3 separate regions of the Homo sapiens genome follow, and all the other regions are linked to region 1. Evidence: promoter capture Hi-C in 16 types of primary human blood cells and fetal thymus (Javierre and others, 2016). All regions are on one chromosome and are shown on one strand. Each heading gives the region's core, a stretch centred on a gene start or on the middle of the fragment in contact. The rest is flanking DNA. Distances are from core to core; before and after follow the strand shown.

Region 1 (3,640 bases), core at 401-2,900:
CCGCGCCCGGCCTACACCTATTTTCTTCAATGAGTTTTTCACTAAATTCCATAGTGCTCCTAACTTTCATCTGAGAAAGTATTCTACCACTGATATTTCCTATTATAACCAAATTCGCTGACCAATCTGCTCTGTAAAAAAAGGTTTGTGGGTATAAATGACGAAAGTCAGTTCATGGATCAAATCCTTCAGTTCTGTCACATTGTGAGAGGCCACTGTTGTGAAAGTAAAATAACTTCTAGTTACGGCTCTGCTAAGAATACGCTGGGGGATGTCAGGAAGTCGCTTTATTTGTAAAATGATGAGTTAGACCAGAATATATTCTCTGATAGAAGTTTACAAAGATGAATAAAGATTTATAGGCTAGGCGCGGTGGCTCACGCCTAAAATCCCAACACTTTCGGAAGCTGAGGATCCCTAGTGCACAGGAATTCGAGATCAGCCTGGGCAACCTGGTGAGACCCCCTTCTCTACCAAAAATAAATAAATAAATAAATAATAAATTTTTAAAATGTATTAGCTGGGCTTGGTGACGTAGTGAGGCAGGAGGATGCCTTGAGCCCAGGAGTTCAAGGCTGCAGCGAGCCGTGATCATAGCACTGCACTTTGGCATGGGAGATAGAGCAAGACCTTAGCTCTAAAAAAAAAAAAAAAAAAAAATTAATAGATTTATAAAGTCCATTCTATGGAGGAAAGTCTCTTATTCAGTTATGAACTGCTGCGAACCTAAAGGCAGGAAGGCAAATTCCCTTCAGTTCGGCAAACACGAAGACCCCACATTCGCGTCGTCTGTGAAGAAGGCACTCCGAACCTCAGGCGCTCACTCGCCAGGTTTAAGAGGATGAGCAAAGAATAAAAGTCCTCTCACCCAGGAAGCGTTTCGCTTCCCTTAGCTGGAGCCACGCTCCAAGGTGCCAAAGCCTAATTGCTGTCCACTCTCACCAATCCGTTAGCAAGATGAGCATCTACCTGCTGCGAACGTGGCGGTGACACTACTACAGCTCCCAGCCTGCCTCCCGCCCGCCCCCACTCCTGGACTCCACAGACCGTGACTTGTAGTCCCAGCCCACGGCTGGCGGCGGTGCGGGACTCCTGAAAACTGCTTTTCCTCCCTAGTAGGCGGTGAGACCGCAAATTCCATCAGAATCCTACTCTGACCCACTAGGGCTTGGCCCGCTCAGAGTCGCATTCCCTCCTCCAAATGAACCAACTCTCCTCCCAGCGATACTCCGACCTCTGAGCACCCCGGGCGGGGCCACGCCCCGGAAATGGAGTCAGGTCTCCAGGCCGCCCGCTGAAGTGCCTTCCAGCCACTCCAAGCGGGGCTGGGGCCGGCGGGGCGGGCTTGGGGGCGTGGCCGGGAGGCGGGCGGGGATGCATCTGCGGGCGCAGCGCTTGGGGCGGAGCCGCAGCGCGAGGCCGCGCATCTGGGTGGCGGCGGGGACGCGCCCGTGGGGAGAGGCGGCTGCGGCTGCGGCTGCGGCTGCTGGCGGGGGGTGGGGGGGAGGAGGAACCGGGAAGGGGGGGCAGGGCGAGCGGAGAGCTAGCTGTGTTCCTGAGGCGGCGGCGGCGGCGGCGGCGGCGGCGGCGTCTCCGACGGAGGAGGAGGGCGGGGAAGGAGGATGGAGCAAGCTGGGGGTTGGGGTTGGCGCTAGCGCAGCGGCTCGCCTGGTACTGTGGGAGAGCGGCGGCTGCTCCTGGAAGTTGTGGTGTCGGGAGCCCAGCCGGTGCCGCCGCAGCCGCCGCCTAGGGCGGTGGGGAGGAGGAGGGAGCCGCGGGGCTTGGCGGGGTCGGGAGGGAGGGACGTGCTGGGGGAACGAGCTGGGGAAGACGGAGCGGGCTCTGTGCCGGGCGGGCGGGCGGCGGGGGGGCCAGCGACCGCAGCCGGGGGGACGCGGGAGGATGGAGCAAGTGGAGATCCTGAGGAAATTCATCCAGAGGGTCCAGGCCATGAAGAGTCCTGACCACAATGGGGAGGACAACTTCGCCCGGGACTTCATGGTGAGTCTCTCCCCTCGCTGTCGCGTTTTCTTGCCGGCGCCGGAGCCCATCGCCGCCTCTCCCGGCCGGGCCGCCAGTGCTTTGTGTACCTCTGTGAGGAGAGGGGCGGAGGGGGCGCGCACCAGCCGGGTGAGCCGGGTGGTCTCGGAGGCCAGCGGGAGGCGAGAGCGCCTCCCCCCGTGGCCTCCTTTCTTCTCCCATGTTCGCGACCCCCGCGCGGGTTCCCGGGACGCGAAGGGAGCGGCCGCGCGGCCGAGCCCGCAGCCTGCACCGTGGCTCGCGACCACCTATTGTTTACCGGGCCGGGAGCCGTAGGCAAGTGAGGTGCAGGCCGGGGGGGGGGGCTCGCGTTTCCACACCTCCCCGCGCAGTTCGCTCCTCCCAGGAGGGTCGAGGCAAGGTATCTGGCTGTGACCGGGAGGAGTGCAGATCGTGGCTGACAGAGGAACGGGGGTATTGAGGTTGGCACTAACTCCTGGGATCCCTTTGCTCTAGCTGGTCTCAAAGCGGGCAGGGTAGGACTTAGGCCGTTTCTGGGGTCGCAGTCATGATCTCCAACGCTTGGGAAAGGATTGCCCATAAGGAATCTCATGGGTTTACCTAATTTCCATTTACCCGCGTCCCGCTTCTCCTCTCCTGAGGCCCAGGTTTGAGGTGGTCTTGGGGTCCGTGTGACTATAGGTTCAGGGGATAAGTGTGGGTGGGGGAATTATCCTGAAGGAAGCCAGCCGACTTCGGACTCCCCAGGGGATATTGCCGAAGGCGGAGGGGATGTGACTATCACTTCCTATCCGGGGTGGGGGTGGGGAACTTGGGAACAATAGTCCTGGTGGGGCGGAGGCGACGCTACGGGCCGAAGCCCTGAACTGGGAGATAACCTTCCCAGCGCCCCCCCGCCTCCGCCACCCCCTACTTTCCGCCCTCTGCTTGTGCAGGCAGTCTTGAGAGGAGGTGAAGGTTAAAAGTCTTGTTCATGAAATTGCTCTAGATACACTATTGCTTTAGCACACTGTGAGGGGGTCAGATCCGAAGGCGTGAGACCAGAAGTCGACTTCCTACGTTACCCACCCCCCCAACCCCCGCCCTTTTTATTTTTCTGCTGGACAATGTTCCCTCTAGGGTTGTTTCCCGGCTTAGGAGGCGGTGGTTGCGGCTGCTGCTCCTACGGATATTGCGCAAGACTGGGGCGTTGGAAACCCTGTAGGTCTGGGGAATGAAAAAGGAAGTGGGACTTTGGGAAGTGGTTGCTCCTTAGTCTTGGCGGGGGTTGGGAATGGGAAATAAGCTGGGGAAAATTTTTATCTTGGGTAAGGTACACCTCGAAGAATAATCACTTAATTCTGAAATCTGATTATGAGAAGGATACACAGTTAATGCCTGTAAAATGAATGGGCAGCAAACATTGGCTAGTTTTTATTTTTTGTTTAAAAAGTACAGTAGTTTTTATGGTGGAGGTGATATGACTTAGTAGTGAATACTTTTTCACGTTTTAAAGAGACTGGTCTAGTAAAGCTTTAGCGTTAAATTTTTAACAGCTTATAAAATAGGCCCTTGACCATACACAGTATTATACTAGCATCGTTGAGCTTTGTGATTCCCGCCTCCCCAGACCAATAATAGAGGACGGAAGTAAAGTTTT
Region 2 (3,640 bases), core at 800-3,299, 1.2 Mb before region 1:
TTACATTTATGGCCTCTCCACTCTACCCCTGACCTGAAGTTCTTGGAATGGAGACCTCTGATGTTTCACACTGTTATTTTTAATCACCTTTCGGACAAAGTATCAGTTTTTGTTTGTTTTTGAGATGGAGTCTTGCTCTGTTGCCCAGGCTGGAGTGCAGTGGCAGGATCTTGGTTCACTACAATCTATCTTCTGGTTCAAGCGATTCTCCTGCCTCAGCCTCCCAAGTAGCTGGGATAAAAGGCGCGTGCTATCATGCCCGGCTAATTTTTGCATTTTTAGTAGAGACAGGGTTTCACCATGTTAGCCAGGCTGATCTTGAACTACTGGCCTCAGGTGATCCGCCTGCCTCGGTGTCCCAAAATGCTGGGATTACAGGTATGAACCACCACACCTGGCCTAGTATCGGTTATTTTTAAAATTCTAGAATGCACTAAAAAAGAGGCAAAAAAGACCTTTACCACTGGTGCCTGATCTACAGACTGATTTAATTCATGTAGTATGAGGTCTTTTTTGTTTATTGTATTTGAGACAAGGTCTTGCTCTGTCTCCCAGGCTGGAATTCAGTGGCGTGATCATAGCTCACTACAGCCTCAACCTCTTGGGCTCAAGCAATCCTTCCACCTCAGCCTCCTGAGTAGCTGAAACTACAGGTGCACACCACCATGCCCACTTAATTTTTGTAGAGACAGAGGTCTCACTATGTACTATGTTGCCTAGGCTGGTCTTGAACTCCTGGGCTCAAGCAATCCACCCAGCTCAGCCTCCCAAAGTTGACAGGCGTGAGCCACCGCACCCACCTAATGAGAACTTTCTTAACCTTATTCTGCTTCTGCCATTCAACTTCAATTCTTTAGGTTCACCCCTTTCCAACTACTTATTTGTGTGATACTGTATTTTTTTCAAATACTTCAAGTGAAACAACATATCACAATAGGCCAGGTGCAGTGGCTCATATCTGTACTCCTAGTGCTCTGGGAGGCTGAGGCAGATCACTTGAGGCCAGGAGTTTGAGATCAGCCTGGACAACATAGTAAGACCCTGTCTCTAAAAAATAAAATGGCCCAGCTGGACGCAGTGGCTCACGCCTGTAATCCCAGCACTTTGGGAGGCCGAGGCAGGTGGATTGCCTGAGTTCTGGAGTTCAAGACCAGCCTGGGCAACACGGAGAAACCCCGTCTCTACTAAAATACAAAAAAATTAGCCAGGCATGGTGGCATGCACCTGTAATCCCAGCTATTCAGGAGGCTGAGACAGGAGAATCACTTGCACCTGGGAGGTGGAGGTTGCAGTGAGCCGAGATCAAGCCACTGCACTCCAGCCTGGGCAACAGAGCGAGACTCCATCTCAAAAATAATTAAGTAAAATGGCCCGGTATGGTAGCACTCCCAGCTACCTGGGAGGCTGAGGCGGGAACACGTGAGCCCAGGAGTTTGAGGCTGCAGTGAGCTATGATCGCACTGCTGCACTCTAGCCTGTGAGACAGAGCGAGACCCTGTCTTAAGAAAACACATATCACAACAGACTGGACGCCTAAGCAGAGAGTACGTGTGACTTAGCTCCCAAGAGATCTGCAAAACAGTAAAACAAAGCTACTCTTGCACCTGTAACGGGACATTACGCCAAAGGAACAAGGGTGAAATAGCGGCAACTTTCAGGGGATCTACCTTCCTTCTTCAGTGACCCTGTTAGAGCAAGCTTGACTGTTCTGATCTTGTTCATATCTGTGCCAAAAGTGTTTTTTTTTTTTTTTTGCCCTCAGTAACTGCAATACTAAAAGTGCTTGGTCAGTTAAGTGCGGTGGCTTGGCCTGTAATCCCGGCACTTTGGGAGGCCAAGGTGGGCGGATCACCTGAGGTCAGGAGTTCGAGACCAACCTGGCCAACATGGAGAAACCCCGTCTCTACTAAAAATACAAAATTAGCTGGGAGTGATGGCGCGTGCCTGTAATCCCAGCTACTCGGGTGGCTAAGGCAGGAAATCGCTTGAACCCGGGAGGCGGAGGTTGGGGTGAGCCAAGATGGCGCCACCGCACTCCACCCTGGGCAACAAGAGCAAAACTCCGTCTCAAAATAAATAAAATAAAAGTGCTTGGTCAATGTGTGCTGAAGAGTTGGTTGCTGCCGCTCGGCCTAGTTTCTTATGGTCTCCTAGCAGTGCAAAAGCAGCCTGGTGTGGGCAGACCAAACTCAGGCAGGCAGATGCGGGTTATCAGTGAGTTACAGCACCTTAGGTATAGCAGTCACTCCTAATTCTACAGCCATACACTTGCAGTGGCACCCAGGGTAGTTCTGGGTGACAAATGAGTCAACGTAAGTGAATTCACTGAGTATATGCCAAAAGCCTATTCACAGTGTGTTATCATTCCTGAAATGTGAATTAATGTTTCTCAGAAAATTAAGAAGCTTGGCCGGGCGCGGTGGCTCACACCTGTAATCCCAGCACTTTGGGAGGCCGAGGCAGGCGGATCACTTGAGGTCAGGAGTTTGAGACCAGCCTGGCCAACACGGCGAAACCCGGTCTCTATTAAAAATATAAAAATTAGCTGGGCATGGTGGTGGGATCCTGTAATCCCAGCTACTCAGAAGACTGAGACATGAGAATAGCTTGGAACCTGGGAGGTGGAGGTTACAGTGAGCTGAGATCGTGCCACTGCACTCCAGCCTGTCACAAAAAAATAATTAAAAGCTATGATCCAGTTATCATTTAAACCTACAACCACACCCACACCCACCCAGGCTAAGAAGTTTGAATAATTTGCCCAGGAATCAAAAGGGGCCATAATTCTGGGAGGATCACTTGAGCCCAGGAGTTCGAGCCCAGCCTAGGCAACATGGCCAGACCCCATCTGTTTTTTGTTTTGTTTTGTTGTTTAAAACGGGCAGGATGGGGCGTGCCATCACTCAAACTCAGGTCTGTGTTTCTCCCCAGTGGTACCCCGGAAAGGCCCTCAGAGATCCAGTTGAACAGGCTCGTTTAATATGAGAAAAATGGAGGCCCAAAAGGTGCAATGGTTTGGTTTTGTTTTTTCAACAGAGATAGGGTCTCAATATGTTGCCCAGGCTGGTCTCAAACTCCTGGCCTCAAGTGATCTTCCGGCCTCAGCCTCCCAAAGTGCTGGGATTACAGGTGTGAGCCACTGCGCCCACCCTAAAAGGTGCAATTTTTTTTTTTTTTTGGAGACGGAGTCTCACTCTGTTGCCCAGGCTGGAAGGCAGTGGTGCAATCTTGGCTCACTGCAACCTCCACCTCTTGGGCTCAAGTGATTCTCCTGCCTCAGCCTCCCGAGTAGCTGGTCCTACAGACACCCAGCACCATGCCCTGCTAATTTTTGTATTTTTAGTAGAGATGGGGTTTCACCATGTTGGCCAAGCTGGCCTTGAACTCCTGACCTCAGGTAATCCGCCCGCCTCAGCCTCCCAAAGTGCTGAGATTACAGGCATGAACCACTGCGCCTGGCCTGGTGCAATGGTTTTTTTAAGTCCCCAAACCCAAATCTGATTCCTGGTTGGAGGCGCTTTCCAGTATCTACTGTCTTTCCCCTTTTTCCTGCCAATCCAACTTCATTGCTTGGGCTGGGGAGGGAAGAGAACACCAACATCTGATCCAACCTTCAAAAGCAAAGGACAGTAAAACTCAC
Region 3 (3,640 bases), core at 286-2,785, 1.2 Mb before region 1:
TTTTTCTTCTTTTCTTTTTTTTTTTTCTTTTTCTTCTCTTCCTTTTTTTTTCTTTTTTTTTTTGAGATGGAGTTTCGCTCTTGTTGCCCAGGCTAGAGTGCAACAGCACGATCTCAGCTTACCACAATCTCTGCCTCCCAGGTTCAAGCGATTCTCCTGCCTCAGCCTCCTGAGTAGCTGGGATTATGGGCATGCGCCACCATGCCCGGCTAATTTTTGTATTTTTAGTAGAGATGGGGTTTCTCCATGTTGGTCAGGCTGGTCTCGAACTCCTGATCTCAGGTGATCCGCCTGCCTCGGCCTCCCAAAGAGTTAGAGCTGGGATTACAGGCGTGAGCCACAGTGCACGGCCAGTTTTTTTTTTGTTTTTTGGTTTTTTTTTTGAGACAGAATCTTGCTCAGTTGCCCAGGCTGGAGTGCAGTGGCGCGATCTCAGCTCACTACAACCTCCGCCTCCCAAGTTCAAGTGATCTCCTGCCTCAGCCTCCTGAGTAGCTGGGATTACAGACATGTGCCACCACGCCCGGCTAATTTTTGTATTTTTAGTAGAGACAGGGTTTCACCATGTTGGCCGGGCTGATCTCGAACTCCTGACCTCAGGTGATCCACCTGCCTCGGCCTCCCAAAGTGCTGGGATTACAGGTGTGATCCACCGCGCCCAGCTTCACCCCTGTTTTTTAAGACAAGGAAGCAGAGACACAGAGAGGCTGTGTGATCAGCCAAAAATCACACAGCCTCTCCGTGTCTCAGCTAACAGAGCCTGGATTCAAACCCGGGCAGACCTCCTAGACTCTTAGCAGCAAAGGCATTGTTTCCTGTCCAGGATCTACCCTCCTTGGCATCTGCTCAGGAAAGGAGTGACCAACCTGACCGAAGGGCACCCTCCAGCCCCTTCTCCAGCACTGGAGGACATGACCTTTTAAATGCATGCTGTCCGGCTCGGTTGGCAGACATGCAGGACAGCCAGGGACATGATTGTCCTGCTGTTTCTGTGCAGTCATAAATCACCGCAGCCCCATCCCCTGGCTTCTGGCTTCCTCCTGTGGCTGGAAAGCTCCCTGATTAGTGCAGAGGCAGCAGCAGCATCTTCTGAAGCCAAGCAGCAATGCTCCCCGCCCTGTCCTCTGGGAACACTTCCCTGTCACTGCCTTAGCAGGCTGTCCTGCAGCAGAGGCAAAGAATGACAGGAAATCTCTGCAACCTGCCTCTCCTTCTGAGGATCTCAGGCCAGTGGAGGAGGCATGAGCCCAGGAGGCAGGACCCACAGGTTGAAGCACTGGCTTTGCCATTAATCTTCCTGAGTGACCTTGGGCAAATCACTTTGCCTCTCTGGTTCTCAGATTGTGCATCTATAAAATAGAGGAACCAGGTGGATGCGTCTTAAGATCTTCCAGTTTATAGCAACAGCTTTTCAGCTAATGGCCCTGTCTCAGTGTCTTTCCATTCTCCCCAGTGAAAAATCCAAAATATCTTTTTTTTTTCTTCTGAGACAGGGTCATGCTCTATCGCCCAGGCTGGACTAGCAGCCTCGACCTCCTAGGTTCAGATGATCCTCCCGCCTTAGCCTTCAGAGCAGCTGGGAATACAGGCTCACACCACCACGCCCAGTAGAAAAAAATTTTCTATTTTTTTTTTTTTTTTTTGTGGAGATAGGGTCTATGTTTAGTTGTCCAAGCTGGTCCCAAATTCCTGGGCTCAAGCAATCCTCCTGCCTCTACCTCCCAAAGTGCTGGGATTATACATATGAGTCACCACACCTGGGCAGTCTGGGCTTTTTCTTTTCTTTTTTTTTTTTCTTTTCTTTCTTTTTTTTTGAGACAGAGTTTTGCTCTTGTTGCCCAGGCTGGAGTGCAATGGCACAATCTCAGCTCACCGTAACCTCCACCTCCCAGGTTCAAGCGATTCTCTTGCCTCAGTCTCCTGAGTAGAAGAGATTGCAGGCATGTGCCACCACGCCCAGGTAATTTTGTATTTTTATTAGAGATGGGGTTTCTCCATGTTGGTCAGGCTGGTCTCGAACTCCCGACCTCAGGTGATCTGCCCGCCTCGGCCTCCTAAAGTTCTGGGATTACAGGTGTGAACCACTGCGCCTGACCCAGTCTGGGCTTTTTCAAAAGCTGTTCCTTGTGCTGAAAGCTCCTTCTATGCCCACCCCCATTAGACCCAGACCTCCTCATCCTTCAGACTCAGACACTGAGTTGAACTAACCACTCTCTCCTCAGTCCCCATGGGCTCTCCTGCCATGTTCTCTAGAGAAGAGCCCAGACCACCATATAGCACTCAGATGTATATGAGTCTGTCTTCCCTGGGGTCATATTCCTGAAAGACATAGACTCAGTCTGAGCCATCTCTGATCTCCAAGCCTAGCATGGAGCAGGTGCTCAGCGAAGTTGTGTTCAATGAAGGAGACTCTCTGCTTTAAGAAGGGAATCAGGGAAGGCACTGTGGCTCACACCTGCAACCCCATAACCCCAGCACTTTGGGAGGCTGAGGTGGGAGGATCACATGACCCCAGGAGTTGGAGGCTGCAGTGAGCTATGATGGCGCCACTGCACTCCAGCCTGGGCAACACAGTGAGACGCTATCTCAAAAAATTTTTAAAAAACAAAACAAAACAAAACAAAAACAATTTTTTAAAAGGAGACCAGGTGCAGTGCCTCATGCCTATAATCCCAGCACTTTGGGAGGCCAAGGCGGGTGGATAACTTGAAGTCAGGCATTCAAGACCATTCTGGCCAACATGATGAAACCCTGTCTCTACTAAAAATACAAAAATTAGCCAGACGTGGTGGTACACGTCTGTAATCCCAGCTACTTGGGGAGGCTGAGGTTGGAGAATTGCTGGAACCTGGGAGGCAAAGGTTGCAGTGAGCTGAAATCACGCCACTGTACTCCAGCCTGGGTGACAGAGCAAGACTCCTTTAAACAATAAAATAAAATTATCCCACCAAGGGAATGTGTGTCACCATGAAAAAAATGGGCCACTGTCTCAAAGAGACAAGTATGTTCAAGAGGGAGAAGAGCCTGGGCTGCAGTCTTCTCCCGAAACCCAGCTGTGTGAACTTAGGCCAAGTACTTTACCCATCTAGAGCTTGGGTTCCCCAACTGAATCTTAAAGAGAAATCTGTACCATGCCCTTTGAATCGAACTGTGAAATGAACAGCAGTATTCTTCGACTTCGTAGAAGAATCTGGAGTGTTTTGGTACTTGGAATACCAACAGAGGACAAATGACTTGTGGGGGACCCATAGTGGTGGGGATGATGGCAGCCTGTGGTTTTTCTTGTGTGTATGTGGGTGTGTGTGTGTGTGTGTGCGTGTGCACGCATGTGTATGTGTGTGTGCATATGTGTGTGTATTGCAACAGCGTCTCCCTTTGTCACTCAGGCTGGAGTGCAATGGTGTGATCATGGCTCACTGCAGCCCTCAACCTCCCAAGCTCAAGCGATCCTCCCACCTCAGCCTCCCAAGTAGCTGGGACTACAGGTGCACGCCACCACATCCAACTAATATTTTGATTTCTTTTTCAGAGACAATGTCTCTCTGTGTTGCCTAGGCTGGTCTCAAACTCCTGGCCTCAAGCAATCCTCACACCTCGGCCTCCCAAAGTAGTAGGATTACAGGTGTGAGCCACCACTGAT

The links. The method cuts DNA at HindIII sites, captures the fragments that hold promoters and counts their contacts. A CHiCAGO score of 5 or more calls a contact.
Region 2: a fragment that was not itself captured here is called in contact with the fragment with the promoter of PTPN12 in region 1 in 1 of 17 cell types (M0 macrophages); the score reaches 5.1 in M0 macrophages.
Region 3: a fragment that was not itself captured here is called in contact with the fragment with the promoter of PTPN12 in region 1 in 1 of 17 cell types (neutrophils); the score reaches 6.0 in neutrophils.

The regions. Positions count from the first base shown.
Region 1 is chr7:77,535,645-77,539,284 of GRCh38, forward strand. It overlaps PTPN12 (protein tyrosine phosphatase non-receptor type 12), which reads left to right and starts at 1,651. Exons shown (of 18, transcript NM_002835.4): 1 at 1,651-2,001. The coding sequence starts at 1,903. LOC124901681 (a long non-coding RNA gene) reads right to left here and starts at 1,305. Exons shown (of 3, transcript XR_007060395.1): 1 at 727-1,305; 2 at 1-637. RefSeq lists enhancers at 731-780, 951-1,170 and silencers at 1,241-1,540, 1,791-2,000, 2,141-2,190. The HindIII fragment of the contact is 6,799 bases long and covers 1-3,511 here.
Region 2 is chr7:76,323,134-76,326,773 of GRCh38, forward strand. No RefSeq gene overlaps it. Among named protein-coding and RNA genes, the nearest start is that of FPASL, 6.7 kb to the left of the region's middle. The HindIII fragment of the contact is 707 bases long and covers 1,697-2,403 here.
Region 3 is chr7:76,365,049-76,368,688 of GRCh38, forward strand. No RefSeq gene overlaps it. Among named protein-coding and RNA genes, the nearest start is that of YWHAG, 7.9 kb to the left of the region's middle. RefSeq lists an enhancer at 1-121. The HindIII fragment of the contact is 7,431 bases long and covers 1-3,640 here.